Linked DNA regions of Homo sapiens: region 2 is linked to region 1. The links are contacts of gene promoters, found by promoter capture Hi-C in human tissues and cell types (Jung and others, 2019). All regions are on one chromosome and are shown on one strand. Each heading gives the region's core, a stretch centred on a gene start or on the middle of the fragment in contact. The rest is flanking DNA. Distances are from core to core; before and after follow the strand shown. Region 1 holds the start of RNF103 (ring finger protein 103). Region 2 overlaps LOC105374846 (a long non-coding RNA gene).

Evidence for each region. Contacts are between HindIII fragments. The study calls those that stand out against the background at their distance.
Region 2: a contact is called between a fragment that was not itself captured here and the fragment with the promoter of RNF103 in region 1, in 2 of the 25 tissues and cell types used here (dorsolateral prefrontal cortex and mesendoderm cells).

What each region holds. Positions count from the first base shown.
Region 1 is chr2:86,621,634-86,625,819 of GRCh38, reverse strand. RNF103 (ring finger protein 103) reads left to right here and starts at 1,955. Exons shown (of 4, transcript NM_005667.4): 1 at 1,955-3,159. The coding sequence starts at 2,934. The region is part of intron 2 of RNF103-CHMP3 (RNF103-CHMP3 readthrough); the gene reads left to right. RefSeq lists silencers at 1,765-1,934, 2,015-2,554, 2,825-2,904, 3,085-3,134 and an enhancer at 1,760-2,054. The HindIII fragment of the contact is 9,717 bases long and covers 1-3,119 here.
Region 2 is chr2:86,801,130-86,805,161 of GRCh38, reverse strand. The region is part of intron 1 of LOC105374846 (a long non-coding RNA gene); the gene reads right to left. It also overlaps a transcript of CD8A not described here. Among named protein-coding and RNA genes, the nearest start is that of CD8A, 12 kb to the right of the region's middle. The HindIII fragment of the contact is 6,316 bases long and covers 1-4,032 here.

The DNA of each region.
Region 1 (4,186 bases), core at 706-3,205:
CTTGTCCATACTCTCTTATTCAGATGACCCAATGTGTTCTCTTATCAATGCTTTTATCCCTCCTGTGGGTTAACCATGAATGAAACAAAGCAAGGGGGTTGGGATGGGAGGCAGTTGAAACAAACAAGAAATTTAAAAAGAGTTCTTTAATTCCTTCTTTCTAGTCCCTCCCACACTCTAATGTTTTTTTCCAATTTGGAACTCTGGCCTGACTGGTTCCACCCTCAGCTCACACACCAACTTTCCCTGCCCATGCCTATTCTGTATTTTTGAGATTGGGTCAGTCTCTCCTCACTAGCGAGTACATACATTCCTTTGAGGTGAGGGACATCACCTTCAGTGTCAAGGTTTGGACAATATCATCAAAGGGTCACCAAGACATGCCCAAGAATTCTGAAATTTCAGAACCAGGCTTGTTAGAATCAGTTGTTTAACACAGTCTCCCACACTGATCTGCCAGCCACGAGAACAAAGCCACATGGAAGCTAAAGACACAGGGGCAGTGTCCAGTTGCTGGCTGGACATTCCTACACCTCCTCCTCTGATTCTCAATGCTCCCTGGGCCCATCCCCTTCCAACTCCTCCCCCACTAGCCCGGCACTGAAATGCCCTTGTTCACTTTATTTTAAATGGGCACCATTCGGAGGCTACATTCTCACAGTCCATTCTTTGCTTCCCGTTCCTCCCTTGCTCCATGACCTGGGATCATGATCCCTTTCTTCCTAAAACTTTCACCCCTAGTTTCAGATAGTTGACAGTTTTGCACAAATAGTAACATTTCCCCGTAATTACTGTTTTTTTTTTCCTTCCTTATCAAAAGGGGCTGGTCAAAGCCAACCTTGTTCAGTTTATGAACCCAACTCCTTCCTCCCTCAAGACTGACACAGAGATTGACGTAAAGAGTACGCTCGGCCCGGTTAAATTTATAAGCACAGAACCAGGTATCGCATGCTTGTCCATGTGACTCTTTTTTTTCTTTTCTTTCTTTCTTTTTTTTTTTTTTTTTTTTTTTTTTTTTTTGAGACGGAGTCTTGCTATGTCACCCAGGCTGGATGGAGTGCAGTGGCGCGATCTCAGCTCCCTACAAGCTCCGCCTCCCGGGTTCACGCCATTCTCCTGCCTTAGCCTCCCGAGTAGCTGGGACTACAGGGGCCCACCACCACGCCGGCCTAATTTTTTGTATTTTTAATAGAGGCAGGGTTTCACCGTGTTAACCAGGATGGTCTCGAACTCCTGACCTCGTGATCTGCCCGCCTCGGCCTCCCAAAGTGCTGGGATTACAGGCGTGAGCCACTGTGCCAGGCCCATGTACAAAATAAAGCACCCGGAACTTTGCACCTGGACTTATCTACACTCGACAATCTTTGTCCTAGGAACTCAGGGAGTCCACACCAGGCTTTTAACACCCTTGAGACTGAAGGAGGGAAAAGGCTGTAACTGGCAGCGACAACTGGGCCTAGTATAACGCGAACTCCAGTTTTGGCCAAACCTCCTCCAACACACATGTGCAAAGCCACATTCTCATGAAGAGGGGGCAAAACATTTGCTTTCTGGGTTTAACCTTCTACCATCTCAAACCAACTGTGCCAAAAATTTCCCTGTTCACCAGGATTCATCAAAAAACGTACATTTCTATTTTCACCGATTTTAAGAGAATAATTAACTGCTCTATTTTTACAAAAAATACACAAAGTGATACAATCTAAAGACTAATCCTCAGACAAAATCAATTGCTAAACATTGGAGGGGCAAAAGGGGAGACCACGCCGCAAAAGCACGGAGAGGCAACTTTCGGCACCGCGGGAAGGCCCCGACCACGCTGCGGCTCCGCCTCTCCTCCCGCCCCTCGTTCGGTAGTCCGGTAGCCCCGCGGCTCCCCGAATTCCCCGCCCTCGGCCCCTGCGGGCGCACCCTGCAGGCCCCGCCCCGGCCCCGCCTCATCGCGACGTCAGTTGTTATGTCTCGGCTCCGGCCGCGGCCGCCGCTGATACACGGTTGTGGAGGGTACGGCCGCGGTCTCCGGAGGTGGCGGGGGTGTTGGGGACGGGTGCTGCGACCGGCACTGCCCATCCGAGCGGGACGGGCGCTGAGTGGCCGGGAGGCAGCCGGGTAGCCGCCTGGAGGAGCAGTCTCGGGGCCTATTATTGGTTTTTTCCCTCCGAGACCGATTCCATCTGCAGAGACCGCGACGCCCCATCCTGGGCCGGGCCGCAGTGCCCGCCCGCCTGAGAGGCGCCGCCCGCCAGCCGGCCCGAGCGAACCTGGAGCCGCCGCCGTGCCCGCCGCTCTTCTCGCGGAGCCTGGGCGGTCGGCGGGGCCTGGGGCCTGGGCTTCGGGCGCGGCGTTGCGGCGGCCGCTCCTCCCCGCGCAGAACACGCTGGGCCCCGGGCCTGGCCCGGCCGAGCGCCGCGCCCTCCTGACCCGCGGCCGCGGGAGTCCGGCCCCCACGGCCCCTCGGGCCCCGGCCTGCCGCCCGGATCCCCGCCTCCTGGGCGGATCTGAGTTATTTTTTGGTCTCCCCCTCCCCCTTGAGATCGCGGCACCGGAGGGCCGACCCCGCCACCTGGGTCAGTGCCCGCCCCGGGGGAAGCGTCCCTCGTTTTGTTCTTCCCCGCGAGCTCTCCCCGCGCCCCTCTCCTTTCTGTGCTTAATGGATGGGGGTTTTGAGTTTTTCCCCTTTATTTTTGTCGGCTCTTGACTGGGAGGCCCGGCGCGAGGCTCTGCGTCTCTGCGTCCCTCGTCGCCGCCTCGCGCCCGCGCGGATCCCGTCACCTGCTTCCCCGCCGGGGATGGCCGGCCAGTGACGGCGCCGGGTGGCCCGCGCGTGGACACGGGGCCCTCGCCCAAGCTGCCACCGAGCCGCGGCCCCCGCCCTCGACCCTTCTCTCTCCCGTATTCCGAGCTCTCTGGAAAGAGAGGAAACTCCAGGGAAGATGTGGCTGAAGCTTTTTTTCTTGCTCCTCTATTTCCTGGTCCTGTTCGTCCTGGCCAGGTTTTTTGAGGCCATTGTGTGGTATGAAACTGGCATCTTTGCCACCCAGCTGGTGGATCCGGTGGCGCTGAGCTTCAAGAAGCTGAAGACCATTTTGGAGTGCCGGGGGTTGGGCTACTCAGGGTTGCCCGAGAAGAAGGATGTCCGGGAGCTGGTGGAAAAGTCAGGCGAGTATCGGGCTTCCCCTAGGGTCCCCTCCACCTGGGAGAGGGGACGACCTGTACCTCCTGGTACCTGGCTGTTCCCCCAGAGTGAGGCCTTTCCTGGAAGCGTTAAAGCTGCCCAGGTTTCTTCGTCCAAGCTTCCTACAATCAAGTATGCGGATCCCAGCTTTGAGGAGGAGTCTGAAATTATTTGGAGGAGTGTTGGTGTATCCTTTTAAGGTTATCGTAAAATGACAGTTTAAAGTGTGGCTTCTTAGCGTTGTTTACTAAGTTGAGTGATTTTCTCAAAATTCTGGAATATCAACTAGTTACAAACTGGAAAGCATTATTTGTCAGTTGAAGTTCATAAAAACGTAAGAAAAACTCCAAAACGTTGTCTGTCAATAGCAATATTTGTCACGATAGTAATAATAAGATACCCAGAGTGGGGACACATCTTTGGAATACTTACTATCAGAGGCACTTGGGCCTAGGATTTAAATGTTAAATCATGAGTTTGAATATAGACAGTATACACCGTACAGTATTAGCTTTTCAGACTTTAAGTTTGGTGAAAATAAGGCGAGCATTTTGTATAAATGCCTGCCATGTTCGAGTTTATATTATATTTCTGTTAGGATTTTTAAAAATTTGCATCTTGGATGTGTAAAAGAAAAATTTTTTTTGTCTTCTGTGTCACAGGTACCCTTGCATTGTTTAATGGGTTGAGAAATATACGTGAAATAGTGCTGAGAGAATATTCAATGTCTTAAAGAATGTGTTTTTAGTAATTGTTGGTTTTGGTAGGATTGGGTGAGAAATATGGTTAATTTTTTTCACTGCTGCACAAAGTATATCTTTGGATATACTTCCTGAAAGTGGAATGTAATTTGAGAAAGGCTTTCTGCGTTGCTGTGGGAAGCAGCTGAAACTGATGGTTATCTTTTTTGTTGTTTCAAGTATTTTTGTCAGCTGTATCTTTTACAAGACAAATCTTTTCCTTCTTTAGTACCTTATAGACATGTAGCGTGATAGACAAGAGTATGAGCTC
Region 2 (4,032 bases), core at 772-3,271, 180 kb before region 1:
GTATCACCCCAAAGTATGAAAGACTATGGACTCCTTCACTCATTAAAAAAAAAAATTTAGGCCAGGTGTGGTGGCTCATGCCTGTAATCCCAACACTTAGGAAGGCTTAGGCAGGTGGATCACTTGAGGTCAGGAGTTCGAGACCAGTCTGGCCAACATGGCAAAACTCTGTCTCTACTACAAATACAAAAATTAGCCAGGCATGGTGGCGTGTGCCTGTAATCCCAGCTACTCAGGAAGCTGAAGTAGGAAAATCATTTAAGCCCAGGAGGTGGAGCTTGCAGCGAGCTGAGATCGCACCACTGCACTCCAGCCTGGGTGACAGAGCGAGACTCTGTCTCAAAAAAAAAAAAAAAAAAAAAAAAAAGATTTAGCAAGGAACAGTGAATGGCTCACCCCTGTAATCTCAGCACTTTGGGAGGCTGAGGCAGGAGGACTGCTTGAGGCCAGGAGTTGGGGGCTCAAGAGTTGGAGGCTGCAGTGAGCTGTTATCACACCAATGCACTCAACCTGGTTGACAGAGCTAGACTCTGTCTCTAAAAAAAATAATAATACTAATTTATTGTGGCAAAATACACATAACAATCTTACCATTTTAACATTTAAGTGTACAGTTCAGTGGTATTAAGTTCATGCACATTGTTGTGCAACCTTCACCACCATCCTTCTCTCTAACTCTTTTCATCTAGAAAAACTAAAACTCTATAACCGTTAAACATAACTCCCACTCCTCCCTCTCCCCAGCCTGTCCCAACCACCATTCTACTTTCTGTCTCTATTATTTTGACTACTTTAAATACCTCAAATACATAGAATCATACAGTATTTGGTTTTTTGTGACTGGCTTAATTCACTTAGCATAATATCCTCAAGATTCATCCATATTGTGGCATGTGTCAGAACTTCCTTTTTAAGGCTGAATAATATTCCACTCTATGTATATACCACATTTTGTTTGTTTAAATAAATTTTATTGTGTATATATAAGGTATATACAACATCATGGTATAAGACACACATATTTAGTAGAATGGATACTATAGTGAAACAAATTGACTTATGCATCATCTCACTTAGTTACCCATTTATTTCCTCCTGTAGCAAAAGCAACTATGCTCATCTAGCAAAAATCCTGGAATAATATGCTATTATTAATTGTAGTCTTCATATTGTACTTTATTTGACTTGTTCATCCTATATGTTTGCTACTTCGTATCCTTAGGCCTACATCTGCCCATTTCCTCTCTCCTACTCCAATCTTGATAACCACTGTTTTATTCTCTATATATTTGACCTTTTTAAAAGATTCCACAGGCCAGGCATGGTAGCTCACACCTGTAATCCCAGCACTTTGGGAGGCCAAGGCAGGTGGATCATCTGAGGTCAGGAGTTTGAGACCAGCCTGGCCAACATGGCAAAACCCCATATCTACTAAAAATACAATTAGCCAGGTGTGGTGGCAGGTGCCTGTAGTCCCAGCTACTCAGGAGGCTGAGGCAGGAGAATTACTTGAACCCAGGAGGCAGAGGTTGCGGTGAGCCAAAATTGCGCCACTGCACTCCAGCGTGGGCAACAGAGTGAGACTCCGTCTAAGAAAATAAATAAATAAAAGATTCCACATACAGGTAAGATCGTGCAATATTTTTTTTCTGTGTCTGGCTTCTTTCATTTAGCATAATGTCCTCCAGGCCCGTCTAGGTTATGGCAAATGCTATCTCCTCCTTTTTTAAGGCTGAATTCCCTTGTATATATCCGTACCACAATTTCTTAAACCATTCGTCCATTGATGGTTGTCTAGGTTGTCTCCATATCTTGGTTATTATGAATAATGCTACAATAAACACAGGAGTACAGATACCTTGGTGAGGTGGTGATTTCATTTCCTTTGGGTATGAGCCCAGAAGAGAGATGCCTGAGTCCACATTTTGTTTATCTATTCATCCAGTAATAAACACTTGGGTTGCTACCACATTTTAGCTACTGTGAAAAATGCTGTTATAAAATGAATGTACTTCTTTACTCACTTTTAACTTGACATCAAACATTTTTCATCACTATAAAGGACATAATTTCCAAAGTAAATGTTGATTTTTAAAAAAGAAAACCTTATTCTTTTTAATTATTTCTAATAGCACATAAATAATATATCAATTTTGTTTCAACCGTCACTCATTTTTAAAATACAAGAAAAAGTTCTTAACTTTTGGAAATTTTTCATCACTCCTTTTTCTCCTTAAACTTATGAATTCTAGGCCAGGCGCGATGGTTCACACCTGTAATCCCAGCATTTTGGGAAGCCAAGGCAGGCAGATCACTTGAGGCCAAGAGTTCAAGACCAACCTGGCCAAAGGGGTGAAATCCCATCTCTACTAAAAATACAAAAATTAGTCGGGTGTGGTGGTGCACACCTGAGTAGCAATCCCAGCTACTCAGGTGGCTGAGACACGAGAATCACTTGAACCAAGGAGGCAGAGGTTGCAGTGAGTGGAGATTGTGCCACTGCGGTCCAGCCTGGGCGGCAGAGTGAGACTCTGTCTCAAAAAAATAAAGAGTAAAAACAAATGGACTTATGAATTCTATTCTACTTCCTCCATAAAAGTTTAATAGGTGCATATGCTTAAGGACCTTATATTGATCAATATTTCATACTTCTCTGCCAAAAAAGCACATGAGATGAATTTTTAATTTCCTGCAACCATAAGTTTCTAAATATTAAAAGTCTTAGATTATGTCATCATTGCGACTATTAATAGTGCACAATTGTCCTTTATAGCATAAATAAACTGCAAGTCTTCAAAATTAATGAACATTAAAAGTAACCTTTGGCCAGGCATGGTGGCTCACACCTGTAATCCCAGCACTTTGGGAGGCCGAGGCAGGCAGATTACTAGAGTTCAGGAGTTTGAGACCAGCCTGGCTAACATGGTGAAATCCTGTCTCTACTAAAAATACAAAAATTAGCCAGACATGATGGCGGGTGCCTGTAATCCCAGCTACTAGGGAGGCTGAAGCAAGAGACTCACTTGAATCCAGGAGGCGGAGGTTGCAGTGGGCCCAGATCACACCACTGCACTCCAGCCTGGGCAACAGAAGAATGCTCTGTCTCTAAAAATAAATAAATAAATATAAAAGTAACCTTTGTTAGGGGAAACTGGGTGAAGGGTATGGAATTCTCTGTACCCTTTCTTGTATGTGCATGTCAATCTACAATTATCTCAAAAAAAGCTTTTTAAAACATAATTTTGGGGGAAAATTCAGCTCTTAATGAAATGGACCCCCCACAAATGAATTTTGTGGTCCAATTAATTAATGAACCCATAAAATAACAGGATTTATTTTATTTATTGATTGCTAGAATGAGACAGAGTTCAGTATTAATTTTGTTTTGCTTTTGTTTGTCATACAATGTAAGTACTGAGAAATTTTGTCTCCATAAATAAATAGTTGGCTTTGTTACAGCAGAATCACTAAATCTTTTAACTTTTTCCTTTTTTTTTCAAAAAGACAAAAGCATGAACCAGGTGCAGTGGCTCACGTCTGTAATCCCAGCATTTTGGAGGCCAAGGTGGATGGATGGATTCCTTGAGTCCAGGAGTTCAAGACCAGCCTGGGCAACATGGTGAACCCCCATCTCTACAAAAATTTAGCCAGGTATGATGGTGTGCACCCATAGTCCCAGCTACTTGGGAGGCTGAGGTGGGAGGACTGTTTGAGCCCAGGAGGTTGAGGCTGCAGTGACTCCACTGCACTCCAGCCTGGGCGAAAGTGCAAGACCCTTTCTCCAAGGGAGAAAGAGAGAGAGAGAGAGAAAGGGAGAAAGGGAAAAAGAGAGAGAGAAAGAGAGCGGGAAGGAGGGAAGGAAGGAAGGAAGGGAGGGAGGCAGGGAGGGAGGGAGACAATGTTATCTATCATCAAAAATTAATTTTAATGATCTATTAGTTGCTGTATTAGTTTGCCAGGGCTGTTTTAACAAAGTACCACAAACTAGGTGGCTTCAACAAAAGAAATTTATTGCCTCACAGTTCTAGAAGC